Regions from separate parts of the Homo sapiens genome. Here region 1 is linked to region 2. The links are contacts of gene promoters, found by promoter capture Hi-C in blood cells and fetal thymus (Javierre and others, 2016). All regions are on one chromosome and are shown on one strand. The core of a region is centred on a gene start or on the middle of the fragment in contact, and the rest is flanking DNA. Distances in the headings are between cores, read along the strand shown.

Evidence for each region. Contacts are between HindIII fragments. The CHiCAGO score rates a contact against its expected background, and 5 or more counts as called.
Region 1: a contact is called between a fragment that was not itself captured here and the fragment with the promoter of CRCT1 in region 2, in 1 of 17 cell types (M0 macrophages). The highest score is 6.0, in M0 macrophages.

Annotation. Positions count from the first base shown.
Region 1 is chr1:153,229,517-153,233,736 of GRCh38, forward strand. No RefSeq gene overlaps it. Among named protein-coding and RNA genes, the nearest start is that of PRR9, 14 kb to the left of the region's middle. The HindIII fragment of the contact is 3,185 bases long and covers 1,076-4,220 here.
Region 2 is chr1:152,512,795-152,517,447 of GRCh38, forward strand. CRCT1 (cysteine rich C-terminal 1) reads left to right here and starts at 1,688. Exons shown (of 2, transcript NM_019060.3): 1 at 1,688-1,758; 2 at 2,568-3,214. The coding sequence starts at 2,590. The coding sequence ends at 2,889. The HindIII fragment of the contact is 3,620 bases long and covers 1-3,195 here.

The DNA.
Region 1 (4,220 bases), core at 1,418-3,917, 720 kb after region 2:
GGAGATGGCCGCACACACTCGGGTCCAGTCAATGCTCCATGTGGAGAAGACAAGAGTACAGAGATGCAGCATCTAACAGAGTCAGAGGAAGGCTATATGTGCAAGACAGAGTTACATTACTTATAGGGTGGGAGCAACACGAATAATGGTTCAGGACATAGGCTCAGGAATCAGACTTCTGGAATTCAAATCTAGACTCCACCACTTCTATTGTTCCCTTAAAACAAATTTCTCCTATGTGAGAGTAAGTGACACAGAATCTCCTATGAGCCAAGCACTGGAGTTACAGCAGCGAACCAGATACACAGAATCCCTGCCTCCCAGAGCTCACATGAGGAGGAAGACAGACAAAAAGCAACTCAGCAAATGCATAAATAAGAAATTGAAGAAAATGAAACAAAATGACCAGGGAAGAGGGGTGCTCTTTAGCTCGGGTAATGTGGAAAGGCCGATCTGAGGTGAGAGCAACAGAAATGATGGGTTACATGATGGTGGCAATGGCAGCGTGCTGGAGGTGAGAGGAAATCTGAGGGAACATTTTCTTGAATGTGAATTGACTGACAAAAGTGTCACTGAACACATTACCTTTGATTCCTAAATAGCCAGAATGACAAAGCCTATCTGTAGATTACTCATTGTGTTCTCATTCATTTATTTTTTCATTCAACAAATCTTTGTTGAGTAGCTACTGTATGCCAAGCTTTCCTTTAGGTGCTGGAGATGTAGCAGTAAACAGACCAAAAGTGCTGTTTTTGTGGAGTTTACACTTAGAGGACACCAAAAGCTCATTTATCCATTCACTGAGCTCCTGCTGAGCACCTAATGCCAAGCATGATGCCAGACACTGATGGGTCCCAGACCCTAAACAATAGGGCTATCTTGGGGTGGGCACATTGTGGCCAGGGTGAATATGCACCTGCATCTGTTTAGGTTTGTTCACAGGCATAAACACACACCTGCCTGAGCATGTATCCCATCAAACCTCAGACAACATGTATATACTGTTCAGATGTTTTTCAAAATGCATCGGGAAGACCCCGAAGGGGTCTCAGTAGAGGCTTTTTATTTGATTCAAAGCTTCAAAAGATTATTCCATCTGCAAAATGTATAAAGGCTGGATGTTGGAGGAAGCATGAAATAGGGAGAGGAAGGACCTGCTACTAGAGTTATGGCTAAAGGTGGTAGATGGCAGCAGTGGAGACAAAGACAAGAGGGTGACGCTAAGTGTTTTGGAGGAATAACTAACAGGAGTAGCAGGGGGACTCAATGTGTGGGGTAAAGGAGGAGAAAGAAGGCAGAAATACTCCCAAGTTTATGGCTTAGGCCACTAGGTGGATGCAGAGAGGTGAGGACTAGGAGATATGTGGGTACATGTCTGAAGCTCAGAGATATCTGGGCCAAAAATGTACATATTTGAGAGCTGTCATCACATAGAAGGTATTTAAAGATATGTGAGTGGCTGAGATCACCCAAGGAGAAGAAGAGAGGGCCCTACCGAGCTGAGGACTCCACAAGATCTCAAGGTTGGACAGCGCAGAAGGAGCCTGTACAGCCAGCTGACAAAGAGCGGTCAGTGAAGGAAGAGAAACTAGGAGGGTGGAGACTGGAAAGACAAGAGAAGACAGGTGTCCAAGAAAGGAAGGAAAATCAATGGAGTCAACCAATACTAACTGGTCAAGAAATGCAGAGTGGCTGGTGACCTTGATGAGGACAGCCTGAGTGGGGACACAGAGGCCAGAACAGAACAGAGTGGACTGAGGAGCAAAGGGAGGTACCAAGCAGGGCAGTCTGTGGGGTTCCTGGATGCAGCTGGATTGGTTTGCTGCTCAAAGAAAATCCCAGCTCAGACCTACTCTAGGACAGAAGAGGCCTTCATGAAAGATGCCTGGCTGCAGGTGTCCAGGTGTGGGAAGGTGAGTGGGAGGAGGCAGGACTGAGCAGCACTTCCCCAAACCAGGAGGGAAGCCAACACCGAAGCCCAGGCTTCCATTTATAGAGTTTCCACAAGTGGACCCGGACTACTCCACCCTGTTCACAAAGCAACCTCGCCTGAACCTTTGACACCAGAGGCTGAGTCAGGCCCAGATGGCAAACACACTTTAAGCCCTAATCAGACTTTGCATGGGTTTACTCAGCCCATGCCTGCTTCTCTGCCCCTACCATGTCCTCCTAGAAGAGGGAGCACCTCTTCCCCGTCACCCCCCAGAGACTCACCTGCATGAGGTTCACACACTGCACTCTCTCACACCATATACCACACACACACACGCACACACATACATACACAAAGTCAGTGTGATGATTCCAGATGCTGGAACCATGCCTCCCCTTGCCCTTTGCCAAATGCCTGCCATGCTGGCCACAGAGGCAGAAGGAAAATGACAATTCTGCCCTTTTGTAATGCATGCTACTATTTTTGTCCATCACAGGTTCCTCAATTTGAGGCCTAAGTGTTCCTAGACTTCATCCGGTGTTGGAGGAAGCCCTTGCTGCCAGGGAAGCCCCAGTGTGAAGACAGGACATAGCAAACCTCAGGGAGACCCCGGGATGAGGAAGAAGACAGCCCCACCCTCTGGAGCCTGCAGAGGGAATGCAGTGGAGAGACACAGTCCTGGCCTTAAGGTTATCCCCAGTTTGAGGAGAAAGAAAAGGTCCCTGGCCTCAGAAGATCCCCAGTGCTAATGTCCCCACAAAGTGTGAGGGTCTCCATCGTACGCATCTCTGTCCTCACCCTCTCCGGACTTGGATTTTTTAAAGATATAGTACAAAATACAAAATGAAAATCACATCCAACTTACTCACCTTTAAAGAGCCCTGATCAAAATATGACAAGTGTGTTTCTCCAGTCATATGTTGAGTACTCACCTGAAGTCTAACCCAGGCTGGAGTTAAAACATCGACTCTGACACTCCAGTCTTTATATCATCATATCTACCACCAACACATCACCCACGTTTACCTTGACCCAGTTTCAAATATGAGAATTTTAGATTCAGAGGCAGAGCAGGGGTCAAGAACTGGCGTAGAGCCAGGCTCCTCAGAATGTGGCCTGTCCCTGTTCACACGGCCCAGGCAAAGCCTCACCAGGGAACCATGCTCCAGCTCCCTGCCCCACTCCAATCCTGCAGACCCCAGGTGACATTCCTGAGGCCACACAGCCTGAGTAATGACACAGCTTAGTGGAGCTGACTCATGGAAAGAGTTGCCCCATGTGCATTTGGAGGACAAGGACAGTTGTGCAAGGTGTTTGTGACAGGCCATGAGGAGGGGCAGGACGTGAGGCAGCAAGAAGTACCAGTTGGTAATTGTCATTACTTCTACTAGAATCTCCAGGTGACAAATCTACCTCAGTGCCCATAGCCCTAGATGTTGCAAAGCAAAGCAGCACTTCCACCCACGGCCTCAAAGAGCATTAAAGAGTCACTCTGTTTCAGCTCACATGAAATCAAACCATCAGTCCATCTGACTGCCCTCTGGATCGCAGCTCTTGGCTAGGTACAAGAGCTGGGGATATGAGGTCTTTTCAGCCCCCTTATCTGTGAAAGAATGGGATTGCACTAGATGCTCTTTATGGCTTCTTCCACCTATGACATCCAGTGGTTCTAAGCAGGTCTCAACAGGGACCCTGAAGTATGTCATACATATGTGACACAAGAGGGGAACCCACTCAGAGCACCCAAGTTCAAGGTCCCAAGAAAGGAAAGCCCAGTCTCCAGCTCCATACTACAGGCTAGTGGCAAATCCCTGGCACAAAGAATGTTGGCAGTCAAATACAAATGTGAGGATCGTTCATCAAACTGGCATGCTGTGTCCATTCATCTATTCATTCATTTGATAAGCATTTAATGGGAGCCTTCTATGCCTGCTATGGAGCCAGCTACTAGATATGCAGAAAATAATAGACAAAGCCACTCCCCTCAAGGGCCTCAAAGTCAACTGGCAGAGGCAGAGGCAGAAAGAGGAAGAAAAAAAAAGCAACATGCTGAAAGAAATACAATGTTGGAGAAATGTCCAGCTTAAAAGGGGCCAGGAGAGGGATTGCCAAGGTGAGCGAGGAATCAAATTCACTGAAGACATAGTTGAGCTGTTAACACTTAAAAGAAACTGGACTTGGAACCCCCACCATCAACTTGGACTCTAATTCATGACATATATGACCTTTGTACTCTCTGTTTCCTGACTTATAAAATGAAAGTACTGAAGTATGTGCCCACAAAGCA
Region 2 (4,653 bases), core at 438-2,937:
GGACGTACGTGTGTGTGTGTGTGTGTGTGTGTGTGTGTGTGTGTGCAGTGAGAGGTATAAGAGTACAGGGGTTTTGGTCCCTGTGTTGGGTTTTCCAAGCAACATTTCTTTAGGAATGGGCTGGTTCCTTCAGGAGACACTCATAATGTACCTAGAAAAGATAACTAGAAAAGTTAATTCCAAATCAGCCTTTAATATAAAAGATAAACAATTGATGCCTCCTTTGATAAGAGTTAATAGCGATAAATAAAGTAAGCTGGTTTATGAGATCATAGGATGCCCACAGAATGAGTAGGCACTTGCCCAGATTATCTCCTTATACTGATTCCTACCAAACGTTCTTCATTCTTTTTTTTTTTTTTTAAAAGAACTTTGCCCATTTTCCCAGAGGAGATCCTGCCTCTGTCTTGTTATTTCATTACTTCCTTCTCTGTTCTAATATTGACTTTACTTTTTGGAATGTCTCACCTATACTCACCAACAGGTGCTCTAGGAACTGGCAACCTGTTAATCAGGCTCTAAATCCATGTTAAATGAAACTGGTATCTTTTGTGACTTATCTTTCCTCGCCTAGTCCCTTGAGCCACTCCCAGCTCACTCGCCCCCAAACCTGTCTCTCATCCTTAATTCCTGAATTCTTAGTCTTGGACTTCTGTTATAGTTCACATTCACAGTTGTGGGCAATTTGATTAAGAAGCAGTTCTGAAGTTGACTGCCAAAGTATCCTCCAATTCTTAAAAATTAGTTATTCTGAAAACACTATCTATCATGAACACTTTGGACCTTTGGAAAGAACTTTCTTTCTTTCTTTCTCTTTTTTTTCTTCTTTCCCTCCCTCCCTTCTTCCTTTCCCATTTTCTTTTGCACTGGGCAGTGGCCCTAGGGAGAACTTATCTTCAAAGGCAGATTGGTGGTTGGGGGTGGGATAAGAAGCAGGAGTCCCACAGGCTGACTAGCCTTTTTGCAATTGGGCCACTGTCCTGCACACATTTTTCTCTTTGTCATACCATGCTGTATTATGGGGATATGGCAACCTGACTACATTCACAACTTTTCTGGTCTTATGGTTCCTTAACTTTGCCTAGGTTTTTCTTCCTGTCTCCAGTGACAGAGAGAAATCACCCCTGGGGTTCCCAAAGGTGCATCCCCGTCATCATCTTCACTCACTGCATCTTGAAGCATATGGATGAAACCCAGCAGGCTTATCGCATAGCTTGTGGTCTGCCCTGGGGAGCCAAGGACCAAGAGCCAGAGAGATGAGAATCAAGATAAAAATAGGTGAACTACCACCTACCAAGTAGATGACTACATAGGAATGGATGTGTGGGCAAGTGGAGCCGTCTGTGTGTGTGTGTGTGTGTGTGTGTGTGTGTGTGTGTGTGTGTATTGAAGACAAGGGCAGGGGTTCCAGACCTCCCTGCATTTGAGCCCCATGCCCTCTCTTAGCATACACACAGCCTCCCAGGTACAAACAGTGCCCTGTTTGGAAAGTAAACATGCCATAGCAATCCTGGCACCTCTGTGAAGTGACTTAGATGCCCACATGCACCACCTACAATGCTACCTGAGTGATGAATGTCTCTGGGATGTGAGTGTCAGCTGAGCACGTCTGTTGGGAAATGGGCCCCTCCCAAGAGCCTGAACCTGAATACTTCTTATAAAAAGGTTCTCTGGCTGGACGCTGCTCAATCCACTGCCTAGCAGGTGGCCCATTCCAGTTGGAGAACGTAGTGAGTCTTTCAGTGGAGCCAGGGTCTGGTAAGTCTCCTAGCAGGGTCTGGGGGAGAGGGTGGGATGAGTTGAGGGCACAGGGGAGGAGCAAACAGAACACAGGCAGCAGATAGATGTGGAAGGGGTGTCCCGCAAGGCACCTACGCTTCTAGTGAGCCAACCTCTTAAGGTACTAATGAGGACATAAAGGCAACATAGGAGGTGGTTTTTGCAAGGGTACACAGCAAGTCCGCAGAAGAGCTGTGACTAGAACCCAGGTCTTTCAGCTCCCTGGATGGGGTTATTTATATTGGCACAACTCTCCTTTCCCACATGGTTGTGGGGCATGAGAGGCGTAGGCAAGAAAGAATGATCAGGACATGCTTCTGGCCTGTGGATTATTTAGACCCAGCAGGTGGGACCGCCTGTTGGACTTGGGTGTTTTCTAACTGATGGGGGTGTAGTAACTAGGAAGATACAGTCGAAGGTCGGTAGGAAAGTAAAATGAGGGACAAGAAAAAAGCCAAGTGGAGATTTTGGACTGGATCATACAGATAAGTTGCCGCAGTGTGCTGTTTATTTTCCACTGTGGAGAACTTGAGCAGTCTTCTTCTAGTCAGAGAAAATGGAAATGCATTGATTCATTGCATGGATTGTGTCCTGCTCTGAGCATGTTTAACTCACTGGAAACACCTGCTTGGATTTGCTTCTTTGCGTCCGCTCTTTCTGGGTGCTTTTCCCTCCTTGTCCCAGGCCAGGCTGACTTGTACACTAAGCCGAATCTCAAAAGCCCAGACAGAGTTCCATTGGTGGAAAGAAAAAGCCGGCTCGCCTTTGAAAGGCTGCCTTTCTTCCAGGTTTGTCGTGAGGAGCTCCGCGATGTCCTCTCAACAGAGCGCCGTTTCCGCCAAAGGCTTTTCCAAGGGGTCGTCCCAGGGCCCCGCTCCGTGTCCCGCCCCGGCGCCCACCCCGGCGCCCGCCTCCTCCTCCTCCTGCTGCGGCTCCGGCAGGGGCTGCTGCGGCGACTCAGGCTGCTGCGGCTCCAGCTCCACCAGTTGCTGCTGCTTCCCAAGGAGACGCCGCCGACAGCGGAGTAGTGGTTGCTGCTGCTGCGGGGGCGGCAGCCAGAGGTCCCAGCGCTCCAACAACCGGAGCTCAGGATGCTGCTCCGGCTGCTGAGAGGCCCGCAACCCCCAGCGCTGCGCTAGAGAAACCCGCCCAGCCCAGAGCGGGCCCGCCCCGCTGCGGCTCCCACGCGGGGCTGGGCCTCGGAGTTTGCCCCGTAAAGCGAATTGCACTTTGATGTTCAGAAACCCACTTTGTTCTCAGCCACGCAAAACTCCCTGACCCCGATGTGATTTTTCTCCCCGGGGATTCGAGAGCCATGCGTGGGACACTGGACCCTACTGTCTACACGGGCTTGCACACAGCAGGTGCTCAGCAAATGTCTATTGATTTGATTGTCTTTTGAAGATGTCATAATAAAGCTTCTACCTCCTGAGAACACCTTTTATTTGTTCTTCATTCGTTTCTCCACCCAGGTAGAAAGGCTTGAAATGTTTGTGAAAGGCAGAATACTATAATTCATGCCTGAACAAGAAGGTGGCTTTCTGATAGTTAATTATGATAGCAGCGATCACATATCGACTGTTTCGAGTATTTTAAGGATTTTATGCGACAAAGTCCTTGAATATTCTCAGGACTTTATGTGGCACAATCTGATTCTCATAATGACTTGCGTAGGAGAGTGCAATTATACCCATTTTACAGAAGAGAAACTGAGGTTAAGTAATTTGTTCAAAGTCACCCAGCTGGCGCATGATAAAGAAGACAGGACATCTGATTCAAGGGCTTCATTGCTCTGCTGAGTTCTCACCTGGGCTTCCCAAGCCTTACCACTGAGGTGCTCCTCCCGACCACCAGGTCCAGGCAGCTGTGTGGTAAAAGTTTGTTTTGGCAACTCTTTGGGGCTTTGGAATCAAGCCAGCTGTCTTCTTTTTTTTTTTTTTTAGTTTTATGTCTTATTTTATTTTTTATTTTTGGCATGGAAGTTCATTGACCTACTGCTTTGCTTGCTGGGGAGGAAATTTTTCCTAAGATGAGCCTTCCAGGAAACTGGGAGCTGCCCTCTCCAGGTCTCATTTGTGCAGCTGAAGCAGGACCAACAGCCATGGGTTTCTGGGAGTCTCTGTGGTGCAGCATGTGTGCTCGGAAACATGGGGATCTCATTCTTTAGAGATGGTGGCTGTGGCAGTGGCAATGGATGGGTCATCTTGCATAGGTCAGAAACCTATCCCTGTGGGCACAGATTTTATCCACTCATTTCAGGCACGAGGAAACAGGAGAACAATATCCTCTGCATGGTGTCTGCTGGGTTCAGAAGGAAGAGATAATCATGGTAATAATAATAGTAACACTAGTTACCATTTATTTGGCACTATATTTCAGGCACAAGTCAAGGCACTTTACCTATATTATCTCACTTAATCCTCACAGTAATCTAAAAATATAGACATTCACTTCCCCACTTTTTATACGTGAGCACATGGGTTTAGACAGTTCCAGTGGTTTGGCTGAAATCACAGAGCTAGTGAATGTCCCCTTGAGTGAGGGAGATGAGATTGAAACTGGAACCTGTGTGACTCCAAAGTCATGCCCTCACACTCAAAGAGTCATGCTCTACTGTCTTAGAAATCACCACCACACAGGGAAGAGACACTCGGGTCTCTGGACACACCCAGGCTCTCAGAAAATTGCAGCTCGGCTTCTTGGCTGCTGCTCCCTTGGTGACCCAATGAGTGGGGAGCTCTGTCATGGCATCCACCCAGCAGCTGGCGGCTGAGGGTGTCTGCTCAAAGGTGAGGTCGGAAATGCTCTACTGATTCATCCAGGATGTTTGACCTTGCGGCCAAATGACCCCTTGCCAGGGAGGCTCTGGAGGGC